Regions from separate parts of the Homo sapiens genome. Here region 2 is linked to region 1. The links are contacts of gene promoters, found by promoter capture Hi-C in human tissues and cell types (Jung and others, 2019). All regions are on one chromosome and are shown on one strand. Each heading gives the region's core, a stretch centred on a gene start or on the middle of the fragment in contact. The rest is flanking DNA. Distances are from core to core; before and after follow the strand shown.

The links. The method cuts DNA at HindIII sites, captures the fragments that hold promoters and counts their contacts. A contact is called where the count stands out against the background at its distance.
Region 2: a fragment that was not itself captured here is called in contact with the fragment with the promoter of COL6A3 in region 1 in 1 of the 25 tissues and cell types used here (mesenchymal stem cells).

The regions. Positions count from the first base shown.
Region 1 is chr2:237,412,775-237,415,985 of GRCh38, forward strand. It overlaps COL6A3 (collagen type VI alpha 3 chain), which reads right to left and starts at 1,390. Exons shown (of 44, transcript NM_004369.4): 1 at 1,179-1,390. The HindIII fragment of the contact is 4,662 bases long and covers 1-3,211 here.
Region 2 is chr2:237,352,386-237,355,146 of GRCh38, forward strand. COL6A3 (collagen type VI alpha 3 chain) reads right to left here. Exons shown (of 44, transcript NM_004369.4): 24 at 2,514-2,549; 25 at 956-1,018; 26 at 137-199. Among named protein-coding and RNA genes, the nearest start is that of COL6A3, 60 kb to the right of the region's middle. The HindIII fragment of the contact is 3,760 bases long and covers 1-2,761 here.

The DNA.
Region 1 (3,211 bases), core at 140-2,639:
AGCACCCTGCAGCTCTAGCACCCTGTGGTCCTCGCCGGGGTGAGCTGTATGTGGGGAGAGAAGCCAGTCAGCCGGGGCCACAGCCCTGCCTCCCCATCCAGCACAGCAGACTCCCCTGTGCTCAGAGGGGTTTGCTCCTGGGGTCTGCACCGGCCTCGAAACTGGCTCCTGGGGCTTCCTGTGGAAGCAGATTTTTCTTTAACCACTCCCTAGTCCCTCCCAGTGACCCCACCCATACTTCAATACCCGTTCATTATCCAACATAGTAGGCCCCTTGAAACAGGTTCCCCAAACAGGCTGGCCACTGTCAGCGAACGTGTCCATCCTCAGCAAGAGAGGGCCCGAGCCCCACCCTGCATCCTCCGGGCCAGAGAACAGCCCTCGGGGCCTCCCAGCTCGGCACTGGCCTCACCTCTGTGCAGCATGGGCTGGCCCTGCAGCCCCAGGGGCCCTGCCTTAGACACTCAGCATGCTGCCCAAATGCCCAATTCCTTCTTCTCCTCTGACCCCTGCAACTCCTTTAAGCAACCCCAAGGGACAAAGTCTCCAATAGAGACTTCAGGTTCCTGGAAAGACGAAAGCTTGACGGCAATGACTGAGCGACCCTTTACTTGGCCCTGATCCTGAGCACCAGAGTTACTCCAATCTTGTGAAAGCAGCAAATGTGCTCCACCAGGACCTTCCCATGGGCGGCCCTGGGCAGAAAACCCATGCAGGTTGTTGCACCCTGACCTAGTGTCACCACCCAGAGAGCTCAGAGAACATCTCCCAGCGGAGCCGCCCGGCAGGGAGCTATGCTAGTCCTCAGCAAAGACGCTTCTGCAAACAAAGCGGATCCCGAATGGGTTTTAGAAGGCGGCAGTAACTTAAATAAATCATGGGCCGAAACACACTGCCGCCCGGAATGCACAGGGCGCGTGTAGCAGCCACAGACACGCGGTGGAAAAGTGCTCACACTCTTAGGCAATCATGACCTTAACCAATTTAAGGAAATCCCATTGCCATAAAGTGAGAAAGAAAAATCAGCGGAATCTTCCAGAGACCTAAAACATGTACAGAAAACTGGCGATCAGCATGAACGTAAGAGCCACTAACGCTACCTAGAAAGGATCACTTCAGGTTAAGAGCATTTCCTTCTAGCCCCAAACCTGGAAAAACAGAAGAGAAATCACACTTACCCCTGAGCAAACCTGAAGGCGTGTGTCCCTGGGCTCCTCGATTCAATTAGGTTTGAATAGGATGCATACTTTTCCCACTCACTGCGTCTCTTTTTCTTTTTGCAGCCTTTCTCCACCAAAAAAGTGGAGACTCAGAGCTGCGGAGGAAAACTCTTGCAGTCCTTGCAGGAGGCTGGAGCCCAGGAGAACTGAACGGCCTTTGGTGGAAGACTGAGCTCCAAACTGGACTGGGGCCAGGGATACCAGTCAGGGCTTCCTCCAGCTCCTCCTCCTCCTCCTCCTCCCTCCCGGACCCCTCCTCTCCCCCTCCTCACTGCAGAACTGACCCAAAACTGTAAATGAAACCAGACTCCTCCACTCTGTTTCTTCTGGCCCCCGCTCAGGCTGATGTCACCCTCTGAATTCTGTCTTCACCCTACAAGCGTTTAGCTGGACTCCTGCAAGCCCCAACTCTTAAAAAAAAAAATTGACCACTCCTACTCGTCACCTTTTGGGCTGGGCCCTTGGCGTCAAAAAGAATAAATTTTGGAATTTCTTCGTGGGTATCCATGGTTTTCCTGCAATGTTTTCCAACACCATCTGAAAGGAAAACAGGAAATGCAGTCCCCCGCTTACCCTCACCACACCCTCCCATTTCTTCTTGAAGTTTCTGAATTGAGACTTCTACTAATAACTTCCCCCTTCAAATAGAAAAACCAGCAATTAAAATCGCCTTGGTTTTCTGTTAACCAAAGCTCTGTTCACCGGCAAAAAAAAGGAGGCTACATTTCTCTTAATTTCTATATCTAATGATTCTGATTGTGGCGCTTATAGGCCCATTCTAGGCACAGACGGGGTAATAAAAATGGTTATCTTGCCAAAGCTTCGGGAAAATACTTGAGTAAGAACTTCTGTTTCTAGAAAGCTTTGCACATTTCAAAACACTTCAATATACATTCTCTCCTTTATCACAAACATCAACACCCTAAGCCCTTTTAAATAGAAAGATGTCTTCTTTTATTAGGTGAAATTGTGGTCCCATTTTACAGATGAAAGAAACAGGCTGGGCACGGTGGCTTATGCCTGTAATCTCAGCACTTCGGGAGGCTAAGGCAGGCAGATCACAAGGTCAGGAGTTGGAGACCAGCCTGGCCAACATGGTGAAACCCCTACTAAATCTCTACTAAAAATATAAAAATTAGCCAGGCATGGTGGCAGGCGCTTGTAGTCCCAGCTATTTGGGAGGCTGAGGCAGGACAATTGCTTGAACCCAGGAGGCAGAGGTTGCAGTGAGCCGAGATGGCGCCACTGCACTCTAGCCTGGGCAACAGAGTGAGACTCCAAAAAAGAGAAAAAGGAAAGAAAGAAAAGAAATGAAAAGAAAAGAAGAGAAGAGAAGAGAAGAGAAGAGAAGAGAAGAGAAAAAAGAAAAAAAGAAAAGAAAAGAAGAAAAGAAAAGAAGTTCCGAGAGAGTAAGTGACATCGTCATTGTCCAGTCTGGGTTAGTAACAGAGCTCAAATGACAACCCAGCTTTGGCCATCCCCAAACTTCTCACTGCTCTCCCATCATGTGGTCCTTATGAAAAGTCCATTAATGTGAAATATCAAGAGACATCCGAAAGGTTCTTTTTGACTGAGAGATCCTTCCAAACCAAGTTTGAAGAGCAAAGAAATCATTAACTCCTTTCCATGGATTATCTCCCTCCAATTTAGGGAAGAAAGGAGACAGCACCCCAGAGAGAATGCCTGCTCCCCTCTGCAGCTCCAGGGCTCCCTTCCTCTCCCATAAAGAAGCCCAACCCATCTCTAAACCAAAGGGCTCACTTGCAGAGCACTGGAGTAGGGAACAAGGATGGAACCTGAATTATGGGGTTCTTAGGTGAAGACACGCTGAGCAGAGGCTCCGAGTATAGAACCGCGCTGCCTGCATGACATGTAGAAGGACAACACGCCCCTCCAGCGGCATCCAATTCTCTGCCCTCATCCTCTCTGCACAGTGCAGGCGTTGACTCAAGCCCCTACAGAGACCGGGGATACTTGCTGCCACCCCCTTG
Region 2 (2,761 bases), core at 262-2,761, 60 kb before region 1:
TGGGGTTTTTGTTGCCAAAGAGGAGAGCTAAAGGGAGGTCTGTCTACAATAGCATCATCCGAGAAACTCTCTCAGCCTGCTTGGCAATGTGCCCTCTGTTCAGCTAGAGAGGGGGCTGGTATTAGGACAGGCTTACCCGAGGTCCAGAAATGCCTTGTTCTCCTATCAGCCCTGGAGGACCAGCAGGACCAGCTGGGCCCTGAGGAAGGAAAAGACCATCGTGAGTGCTAATGAGGTGACTTTCCATGAGAAGCCTCTGCATGGCATCTGCCCATCCCACAGGGCCTGGAACCTCACTTCTGCTGGCCAAAAACGGCCACCAAAACCCACAATTATCCTGTCTTAGCTGCAGTAGCAGCTGCCTCAATCCAGATCGTGAATAGGCAAGTGAGCTTAAAATGTATACAAGCAACAAGCATTCAGACAAAAACGTGTAGGAGAATCTTCACAGAAGCATCATTCACAATTGCCAGAAGATGGCAACAACCTAAATCTCCATCAACCAATGAGTGGATAAACAAAGTGTGCTGTAGCCACACAACAGAGTATCCTTCCATCATGTAAAGGAATGAAGTGCTTCTACATGCTGCAATGTGGATGAAGCTCAAGAACATGATGCTCCGTCAAGCCACACACACAAAGCTGCCTAGTAAATGATTCCATTTATACAAAATATCCATAGTGGGCAAATCCATAAAGAGAGAGAGATTAGTGGTTTCCAGGGACTCGGGGTGGAGGGTGATGGGGAGTGACTGCTAATGGGTACAGGTCTCCTTCGAGACTGTGTTTTGAACCTAGATAGAGGTGATGATTGCACAGCATTGTGGAAGTACCAAATGCCACTGGATTGTTCACTTTAAAATGGTTAACTTTCCGGATATAAATGCCACCCAATCATTTTTTAAATGATTTGTGAAATATCAGAGGGCACACAGTCACACACGGAAGCACTCACCTGTGCACCTCTGGTCCCCTGCTCTCCCTCAAAGCCCGGCTGGCCAGGACCGCCCTTGTTGCCCTTTGAAATAAGAGAAGATGCAGGGAGGAGTCAGGATGGTTCCTGTCAATGTCAGCTCTTTGCTCTACAGTCATTTCTGGGCCAGGGACTTGGAAAGCAACCAGGGAAAACTCAGCTCTTCCAGAGGTAACAGATGATCAAAGCGGTAACCCCAGGTGAGACACTGAGCACAGGAGCCAGCTGTCTCCCTGCACTTCTACAATTGTTCCTCACTCTTGCCTCACCTCTCCTCGGACAGCTTTGTGAAACAGGGATCATTTAGACCTAAAGCAGAGGACCGAGACACCGGGAAGTTGCGGGTTGCTGATGGCCAGATAGGTGAGCACGTTCTGGAAGAGGCGCCCGCCCGGGACACTACTGCCTCAGTCATGTTTCCTGCACTTGGACCCCAAGTCCCCACTGGGCACCATTTTCTCTAGACTCTGCAGAAGAGGCTGTTTAAGGAGACGGCTGACAGAGCCTCGGGAGCCAGAACAGCCCAAGGAGGATGAAAGAAAAATAAATCTCAGAACCCCAAAATCGCTAAGCCAAAGGGAAAAGTCAAGCTGGGAACTGCATCAGACAGAGCTGCCTCCCATTCTATTCTTAAATAAGATAGCTACAAAGAATTTTTTTTTTTTTTTTTGAGATGGAGTTTCACTCTAGTTGCCCAGGCTGGAGTGCAATGGCATGATCTTGGCTCACTGCAACCTCTGCCTCCCGGGTTCAAGTGATTCTCTTGCCTCAGGCTCCTGAGTAGCTGGAATTACAAGCTTACAAGCATGCACCACCACGCCTGGCTATTTTGTATTTTTAGTAGAGACGGGGTTTCTCCATATTGGTCAGGCTAGTCTCGAACTCCCAACCTCAGGTGATCCGCCTGTCTCAGCCTCCCAGAGTGCTGGGATTACAGGCATCAGCCACCGTCCTGGCCAGATTTTTTTTTTTTTAAGCTGAATACCTCCCTCACATTCTGCCCACAGGGAAATTCCTTGTGGACAAAGGACAGACAGAACTGAAAGTCATCCCTCTGCTCATGGGAGACAAAGGCATATCCAATTGCTTCCTTCGCCCTGTTTTTCACTAAGCCTAACTAAGGCATAGGTGACTGTTCTGGTAAACTGTGTATTCAGTGAAAGGCTAATCAGAGACTCAAAAGAATGCAACCTTTTGTCTCTTATCTACCTATGACCTGGAAGCCTCCTCCCCTGCCTCGAGTTGTCCCACCTTTCTGGACCGAACCAATGTACATCTCACACATATTGATTGATGTCTCATGTCTCCCTAAAATGTGTAAAACCAAGCTGTGCCCCGAACACCTTGGGCAGGTGTCATCAGGGCCTTCTGAGGCTGTGTCACGGGCATGTCTTTAACCTTGGCGAAATCAACTTTCTAAATTGATTGGTATCTGTCTCCGAAGCTTTGGGTTCACAGGAGAGAGTGTTTTTCACTCCTGGGCTGGGCGGCATCTGGGCTGTTTGAAGAGAGTCTCCAGGGGGCACTGCATGAGGCTCACCTTAGCTCCGGGGGGTCCCCTTCGGCCAAAGCCACCCTGTGGAAGAAAAAGTCCCACAAACTGTGAGGGGGAGCATGGGACGCTGGGCATGGGGCCTAGAGCTCTTTCAGACTTCACCCTCTTATTCTGCGGTTACTCAGGGGAATCTTCCCAAGCACCCACATCGTGCCAAGAACCAGAAACCACACCTCATCAGCCCTGGGGAAACTCGCACACACAGACACCCTTCCTCCACCCTCATCCGGGTG